Regions from separate parts of the Homo sapiens genome. Here region 2 is linked to region 1. Evidence: promoter capture Hi-C in 16 types of primary human blood cells and fetal thymus (Javierre and others, 2016). All regions are on one chromosome and are shown on one strand. Each heading gives the region's core, a stretch centred on a gene start or on the middle of the fragment in contact. The rest is flanking DNA. Distances are from core to core; before and after follow the strand shown.

Region 1 (4,092 bases), core at 1,256-3,755:
AGAGGTAAAACTACAAGGTTTTAATTAGATAAAACTAATTAATTTTAATTAATTAGTTTTTAATTAATTAGGTTTTAATTGGCTTCTGTTTCACCCATTTCACAGCCCCATGTCTTAACGGAGAGCTTTTTTATTTATTTCAAGATATAGAAATCTCTACTGAAGAGGAAAAGGATACTGGAGATCTAAAAGATAGCTCTCTCTTGAAAACAAAAAGGAAACATAAGAAAAAACATAAAGAGAGACATAAAATGGGAGAAGAAGTTATACCATTAAGAGTGCTATCAAAGTAAGTCTGTGGTTTAAATTCTGTCATTGGCTTAACAATCCATCACCATTGCTAAAGTGCAATTCCAATTTATATTCAACAGAGTTGCATATTAGCAACAGTAATGGCCTGTAGCCAAGAACTGCACACAGTGTGGGCGTTAACGCAATTGCTGATTAGGTAGGAACCACCACACTCAAACATGGAAGCACTTATTTTTGTCATGTCACAGCAAGTGCCTCCATGTTAAAGTAGAGGGGGCCCCTTAACAGATGTAAAAATACAAAATAAAGCTTAAATATATGAGCTGCGGTCAATACAATAAAGTTATTTTCTAAAAAAATAATAAAAATGTAAAAGGAAGACTTACCATCACCAAAACATGGAAGCACTTACTTCTTTAGTTTCAAAGCAAGTACATCCACGTTTAAGTGGTGGGGAGCCCAGTCTTGGAAAAAGTTAGAATCCTTTAACCTGTAACAAGCTTAGTAACCTTAAAACACAATAACAAAAAAATTTTGTAACAAAAGGTGTGCTGGCTTGGAGACACCTCCACTGAAACATGGAAGCACTTACTTTTGTTTCACACAGCAGGTACCCCCATGTTAAAGCAAAGGGGATCCCTTCAAATGAGGTTAGCGTGTTCTATTTTGGAGAAGTAAATTGGATTCACTCCTACTAAAACATGGAAGCACTTACTTTTAAAGTCACAGAAAGCACTTCCATGTTAAAGTTGAAGGGAGCCCACCCAACATACAACTTCTTTGGACTTCAGAGTATTTAGAGCTGAGGAGAAAGAAAACAAAATGGCATAACTTTAGAAGAAAAAAATTTTTTTACCTTCCTGAACTAGTTCCCAAAGATTCGTGTTCTCCTCCAGAAGGGTAAAAGGCAGGGACTTCAGCCACTTCTATTTATACTATTCTTAACTCTTGAATTCCTTTTGCCTTTTTATCTCAGAGAATCATTACAAGGGCCTTTTGTTATTTTAATGTATCAGCTCTCAGGGAATGTATGATCCTGGGTGGGTCTGGATCCTTTTTTTTTTTTTTGAAGTATACAGATGTCAATGTTAACAGCTAAAACCATTACCACAAGATATCTTCCTCTTAAAAAAAAAAAAGAAAAAGAAAAAGAAAATCTCCTATCTGCTTGTTTGATGGCATAGATTAGGGTAACAATGAGTGCTCCCACTGAGCCGAGAAAGGCATTGTGTTTCTATCTGGAGGAACTCTGTTTGAAGAAGCATCTACATGTTAAATGTATGTAAATAAATAGATTGCTTCCACGGGGTGTTTTGTTCTACTTAGAAATTCTTTTTGATTCAAGTAAATACTAAGGAATGTTATCTCTCAAATTGGAAGCAGTTTAACAAATCTTTAATCTCGCCCTTTTCCCACAGAGATGACTGATTTAGTAAATGTTACTAGTTAAGGAATTAATGCTAAAATTTTACTTTTATAAATTAAAATACTTCAGACACTCAAAAATTTAATTGGCAATCTTAAAACATTTAATCTGAATATTGGGGGAAGAGGAACTCCCTTAGCTTATTTTGCTAAATGTCTTTAGAACCTAGGAAATATTTTGAATATGTGTTTAAAGAAACAGGAAAGTTGGTGGAGGAGTTGCTCCAAGTCATTGTGAATGTATATATTTAGATATTTCCCTATTTACTTTTTATATTTAGTCATCTGTTATCACCATTTCTTTCCTTGTAGGAGCGAATGGATGGATTTGAAAAAAGAGTATTTAGCGCTACAAAAAGCTAGCATGGCTTCTTTAAAAAAAACAATATCCCAAATAAAATCAGAGTCAGAAATGGAAACAGACAGTGGAGTACCTCAAAACACTGGAATGAAAAATGAAAAAAGTAAAGATCACTGATAGTTTTGACAACATTATAATGTACTTATATATGTAAATGCTATCTCTGAGTTGTTATAAGATAAATTTTAATTTTAAAAAACTTGATTATTCTATTTCATTATTAGAACAATTCTTGATTTGTTAAGTTATCCAGATGTGTTACTTACTCTTGATATAAGAATATTTAAAAGGCTCATTTAAAACAATTTTTTAAATAACCTGAGTTTTCTCTACAGTTTTCATCAAGCACATGAGTGCAGAGTTTGCAGACTGAGCAAGTTTGTAGGAATGAAGATTGTAGTTTCTCACCTGTTAATTTCATTCTGTAGTATGCACCACAAGCAGGAACAAGTTAAAGCAGAATTCCTATGAATTCAAAATTAGGATACATTTTAAATTCTCATTTCTTGTAAAAATAAATGTTCACGTTTGAATAATAATGTATTTAAAACACAGTATCCTTTAACTTTTTTTTAACTTTATTGAGTAAAAATTTACTGTTCCTTTGTTCAGGGAGAAGGGGCAAATTTAAAGGCTTTACGAATGCTCTTCTAGCAGTAACAATTTGCATGTAGAATAATAAAACTTTCTGAGTTTTATTCATGGTATTTTGAAATAAGCAGTATGACATATAACCTTTAATTGTTTACTTTAAAATTAAATACGTTTTAAATTATTTAAATCTGCCTCAGGAATTATTCTAAGGTAGTCCTCCTAAGTATTAAATTGTTGTTAAGTGTAAGAGATTTAGTCCTGGTCTTTTTCCTTTTCTAATCAGCAGCCAACAGGGAAGAGTGTCGCACCCAGGAGAAAGTTAATGCAACAGGACCACAGTTCGTGAGTGGAGTGATTGTGAAGATCATTAGCACAGAGCCTCTACCTGGCAGGAAACAAGTCCGGGTAATGATTTTGAGCCCCTAGGGTATTTGTTCCTTTCTTCTCTTATTATTTCCCTGTGTGAAAATGTTTTGAATATGGAAGATAAAACAAATCAAGTTAGAATTTGTTTCCCTATGGTAAACTACTGTACAGTTTTAATTCCATGGTAACTCTTAGGTTTAATTTTGAAGCAAAATCTAGAGGCTGAAATTCCTCACTAAATCTATATGTAAGCACAGTTTAAACATCCTTCTCTATAGGAAAATTGTAACTTTTGCTTATTTTTATTGGCACTGATTTTTTTTGTATTACCTATGTGCTGATTATCTTTAAAATTTTAATTATAGAAAAGTAAAATATTTTTGAAAACCTCTTAAAATTTTTCACGCATGTGCCAAAAAACCCATACTTCTATATAATTTACGCTACAAATTGCTGTACATACAGGTTTATAATTTTTTCGCTTTATACAGTCTATCTTCTGTAGCCTTTTATACCACATTGGTAGCAATACTTTCTATTAGGGAAATTATATACTTTTAGGTGAGAGTACCATATCTTATTTACCCTTACCCTGCCTGTCACCCATTTAAGTGAATCCTTTTCTTTTTAAAAAGTGTGAAATGCTCTGTAACATACCACATATTTTAAGTATTTTCTTATACTGACATTCATCATCACTTAGTATGTTGTTTTGGTTTTACGTAGACTCATCAGTCACAGGTTTTAACTTGAATACCATTGAGGTGGTGGTTTGTTTATCTGTAAGCCCTCCTTATCTGAAATACTGTCCTACAATCCTATAGCTGTCACTAAGAAACAAATTTTGATCCTCTTTGCAATGTTGGTGAAGGATTTGGCCAAATCCAAATTGCTATTACCAGCTTGCATTTCAGGAGACAGCTGAAAATTGAGGGATGTAAATACTGCTCTGATTAATCAGATTGCAAAACATTTAATACAAAAATTGCTCAGAGTTATTTCTAATCAACTCATTAAATAACTTCTGTTATTTAAAGGGTAACTTTATCAATTACAAATTCATCATTTATGATCATCAAAATCATAAAATCAAT
Region 2 (3,910 bases), core at 1,270-3,769, 120 kb after region 1:
CTCAGGTATTCAATGTGCCAAGGTGTCTATATTAGTCCATTTTCACGCTGCTGATAAAGACATACCCGAGACTGGGTAATTTATAAAGAAAAAGAAGTTTAATGGACTCACATCACAGTTCCTCATGGCTGGGAAGGCCTCACAATCATGGTGGAAGGCAAAAAGTGTGTCTTACATGGTGGCAGACAAGAGAGAATGAGGACCAAGTGAAATAAGTTTCCCTTTATAAAACCATCAGATCTCGTGAGACTTATTTACTACTATGAGAACAGTATGGGAGAAACCGCCCTCATGATTCAATTATCTTCCACCAGGTCCCTCTCACAACACGTGGGAACTATGGGAACTACAACTCAAGATGAGATTTGAGTGGGAACACAGCCAAATCATATCAGTGCCTTATTTTGGAGTAGCATATCCTGAACCCTGTGAGCCCCAACTCAGCCATTCCTTACTGGAGACTCACCTGGGACACATGTGAAAAAAAACCCACACCTGGATTACCCTCCTGAAATCTGACTTAAATGAATATCAAGAAATAGTCTGAAGGGAAAAGAAGGTACTAAAGGCAAATAGCCTCATTAACTAGTATAGCATTACCTAGGAGAAGAAGTGTGTGTTCAAGAGGGGAGTGTTGAGGCCCTTGCTGTTGAGTCCCTTTGGTACCCTCAGCAGGATGGGTTTTGTAAGCAGGTTATGCCTTCAAGTCCATCTTATTAGCTGTTGGTGCAGTTGCTTTCTTCTTCTGCTACATTTGTAAATTAATGAGGTGCTCCATCCTTTCACCTCCACTTAAGGGTAGGAGGTGACGGTACTGGGGAGCGTGTGTTCTGAGGCTGTACAAGAATTATGTGGAAGCTTTGAAAAGACATACAGATTCCTATTGCATATGTACCAACTGAGAACCTCCAGAATGAGAGCTTAGAATCTGTATTTTAATTTAGTTTTATTAATTTTTAAAGTGTGGTTGGATGCGGTGGCTCATACCCGAAATCCCAAAACTTTGGGAGGTCGAGGTGGGCAGATCACTTGAGCCCTGGGGTTCAAGACCAGCCTGGGCAACATGGCAAAACCCCATCTCTAAAAAAATGCAAAAATTAGCCAGGTGTGGTGGTGGATGCCTATAGTCCCAGCTACTGAGGTGGCTGAGGTGGGAGGATCACCTGAGCTCGGGAAGTTGGGGCTGTGGTGAGCCGTGATCGTGCTGCTGAACTCCAGCCTGGATGACGGAGTGAGACCCTGTCTTATTATTAGTTTAAAAAACACAGAAAAATATAAACAAGAACACAAAATTGGCCCATGTTTCCTTTATCTGGATAACCCATGTTGACATAAAAAAGCCAAAAACACGCATGGGTTTGGAAAATTCACATAGCATTGAAGATACAAAACAAAGTAAAAAGTAAAAACTTCTCTCTTCCCACCTACCCTTAGACTCTTTCCTAAAAGATTATTACTACTTTTCTGTGTTTTTACCTAGGTAACATTTGGGAATCCACTTTTTTGGGGAAAATCTCCCCCATTAATTATCATGATTAGTCAGATTTGAGAGTTGCTGCTCTGAGGAAATAGAGAGACACATTCATGCATTCAACTTGTGCCAAGACAGTTAGGCTTCATTAGCCCAGCCTTTATGTGGTAACAGATACAATATGTATTTCCATTCCATCAGTATCCATCCAGTAAATCTTTATCCACCTAAGTAAATTTTATTTTATTTTATTTTATTTTAATTAATTTATTTTTTTGATACTGAGTCTTGCTGTATCGCCTAGGCTGGAGTGCAGTGGCAAGATCTCGGCTTACTGCAACCTCCGCCTCCCAGGTTCAAGTGATTCTCCTGCCTCAGACTCCCAAGTAGCTGGGACTACAGGTGCCAGCCACCATGCCCAGCTAATTTTTGTATTTTTAGTAGAGATGGGGTTTGACTATGTTGGACAGACTGGTCTTGAACTCCTGATCTCGTGATCTGCCTGCCTTGGCCTCCCAAAGTACTAGGATTACAGGCTTGAGCCCTCCCAAAGTGCTGGGATTACAGGCTTGAGCCACCGCGCCCAGCCGGAAATCTTTACTGTGGTAAGTGGTGTAAGAGACAAAAATGAATTGCAGCCCTGGTCACGCCCTTAAGGAAGGATCTTCTATCCATGTATTGTAAGATATAAATAACTAACTACCGCTGGGCACGGTGGCTCACGCCTGTAATCCTAGCACTTTGGGAGTCCAAGGTGGGTGGATCACGAGGTCAGGAGATCGAGACCATCCTGGCTAACACGGTGAAACCCTGTCTCTACTAAAAATAGAAAACATTAGGCAGGTGTAGTGGCAGGTGTCTGTAGTCCCAGCTACTCGGGAGGCTGAGGCAGGAGAATGGCGTGAACCCGCGTGGCAGAGCTTGCAGTGAGCCGAGATCGCGCCACGGCACCTCCAGTCTGGGCGACAGAGCGAGACTCCGTCTCAAAAATAAATAGCTAACTAACGAACTGACTAACTAACTCCTGTAAGCCTGGAAGAAATGAAGCTCTCATAGAGGTTTAAGACATTGCCATGGGCAGCAGAAAGAGGACCAATTCATGAGTTCTGGTGGGCAGGCAGCATTTGAATTGTCTTTAAAGGATAACAAGTGAAATGGTAAAGAAAGAGGGGTGGAAACGGGAGGCCAAGTCCAGTCCAAGGAATAGTGTGAGTCAAAGTGTGAGACCACCACATCATTTAAGCAGGAGGCAGGGGCTTAAAAACTTATTGTCCCATTAAAGATTTGGAACTGTTTATAGACAATGGGAAATTTTGAACGTTTTTGAGAAGAGATTTAACGGGACAAGACTGATGCTTTGAAAAATAATACTTGTGGGCAACAGGTTCACAGAGAATCAGGCCGCTGGAGAATAATTTTTAAAGACTCAACTGAAATTTGTACTGATATTCAACACAGTCTCTCCACCAGTTTCCCCTCTTCTCGTGGGTTTTGTACAGCAGGAGTGTGATGGATGCTTTTGTGTTTGGACCAGCTGGAGGTGGAGAGGCCAGTTACTGATAATCTGCAGTATAGACAGTGAAAGAAAAAAGAGAGTAGGGCATAAAGAGATGTGCCTAAGGTAGAATCAGAACTTGGTGACCAGAGGGGCTGGTAAGAGAGAAAGACAATTAAAATGGATAATTCCTAAGATTTCACCAAAGGCGGTGGCTTATGCCTGTAATCCCAGCACTTTTGGAGGCCGAGGCAGGTGGATTACTTGAGGTCGGAAGTTCGAGACCAGCCTGGCCAACATGGTGAAACCCTGCCTCTACTAAAAATACAAAAATTAGCTGGGTGTGGTGGCACGTGCCTGTAATCCCAGATACTTGGGAGGCTGAGACAGGAGAATAGCTTGAACCCAGGAGGTGGAGGTTGCAGTGAGCCGAGATTGGGCCGCCGCACTCCAGCCTGGGTGACAGAGCTAAGCTCCATCACACACACACACACACACACACACACACAAGAAAAAAAATTCTAAGATTTTAAGATTTCTAGGCTAATAGACCAGGTGAGTGTTGGGTATCGTTAACTGAGAAGGGAAGGTAGGAAAATGGGCAGGTTGTAGGGTAGAGGTTGCTCACGGCTTTTGTAGGAAGATGGAAGTATATCACTTTAAGTTTGAGTTACACTGGGAGTATTCATATAGGGAGACCAACCTAGCGGACATGAGAAATTAGGTCTGAAGCTCACAAAATTGGTCAGAGCCAGGTATATAGGTTTGAGTAGTTGTAGGTCTATAAGGACTGACGTCTTGGAGGCGGATGGGACTGCATGAAGGCTGTGGTTTTCCACACTTTCGCATGTGTAAGAATCTCCTGGAGGGCTTGTTAAAACATGTTGCAGCCCAGCCACCCTTGGAGTTTCTGATTCAGTCTGGTTAGGGCTCAATAATTTGCA

What was found. Contacts are between HindIII fragments. The CHiCAGO score rates a contact against its expected background, and 5 or more counts as called.
Region 2: a fragment that was not itself captured here is called in contact with the fragment with the promoter of MIR302CHG in region 1 in 1 of 17 cell types (erythroblasts); the score reaches 5.2 in erythroblasts.

Annotation. Positions count from the first base shown.
Region 1 is chr4:112,647,546-112,651,637 of GRCh38, forward strand. It overlaps MIR302CHG (miR-302/367 cluster host gene), which reads right to left and starts at 2,506. Exons shown (of 3, transcript NR_146092.1): 1 at 2,447-2,506; 2 at 968-1,054. LARP7 (La ribonucleoprotein 7, transcriptional regulator) reads left to right here. Exons shown (of 13, transcript NM_016648.4): 7 at 1-4; 8 at 145-289; 9 at 1,990-2,141; 10 at 2,916-3,037. MIR367 (microRNA 367) reads right to left here and starts at 396; the gene lies at 329-396. MIR302D (microRNA 302d) reads right to left here and starts at 526; the gene lies at 459-526. It also overlaps MIR302A, MIR302C and MIR302B. RefSeq lists an enhancer at 1,326-2,048. The HindIII fragment of the contact is 6,288 bases long and covers 751-4,092 here.
Region 2 is chr4:112,772,071-112,775,980 of GRCh38, forward strand. It overlaps a transcript of ANK2 not described here. Among named protein-coding and RNA genes, the nearest start is that of MIR302CHG, 120 kb to the left of the region's middle. RefSeq lists an enhancer at 1,848-2,374. The HindIII fragment of the contact is 3,326 bases long and covers 857-3,910 here.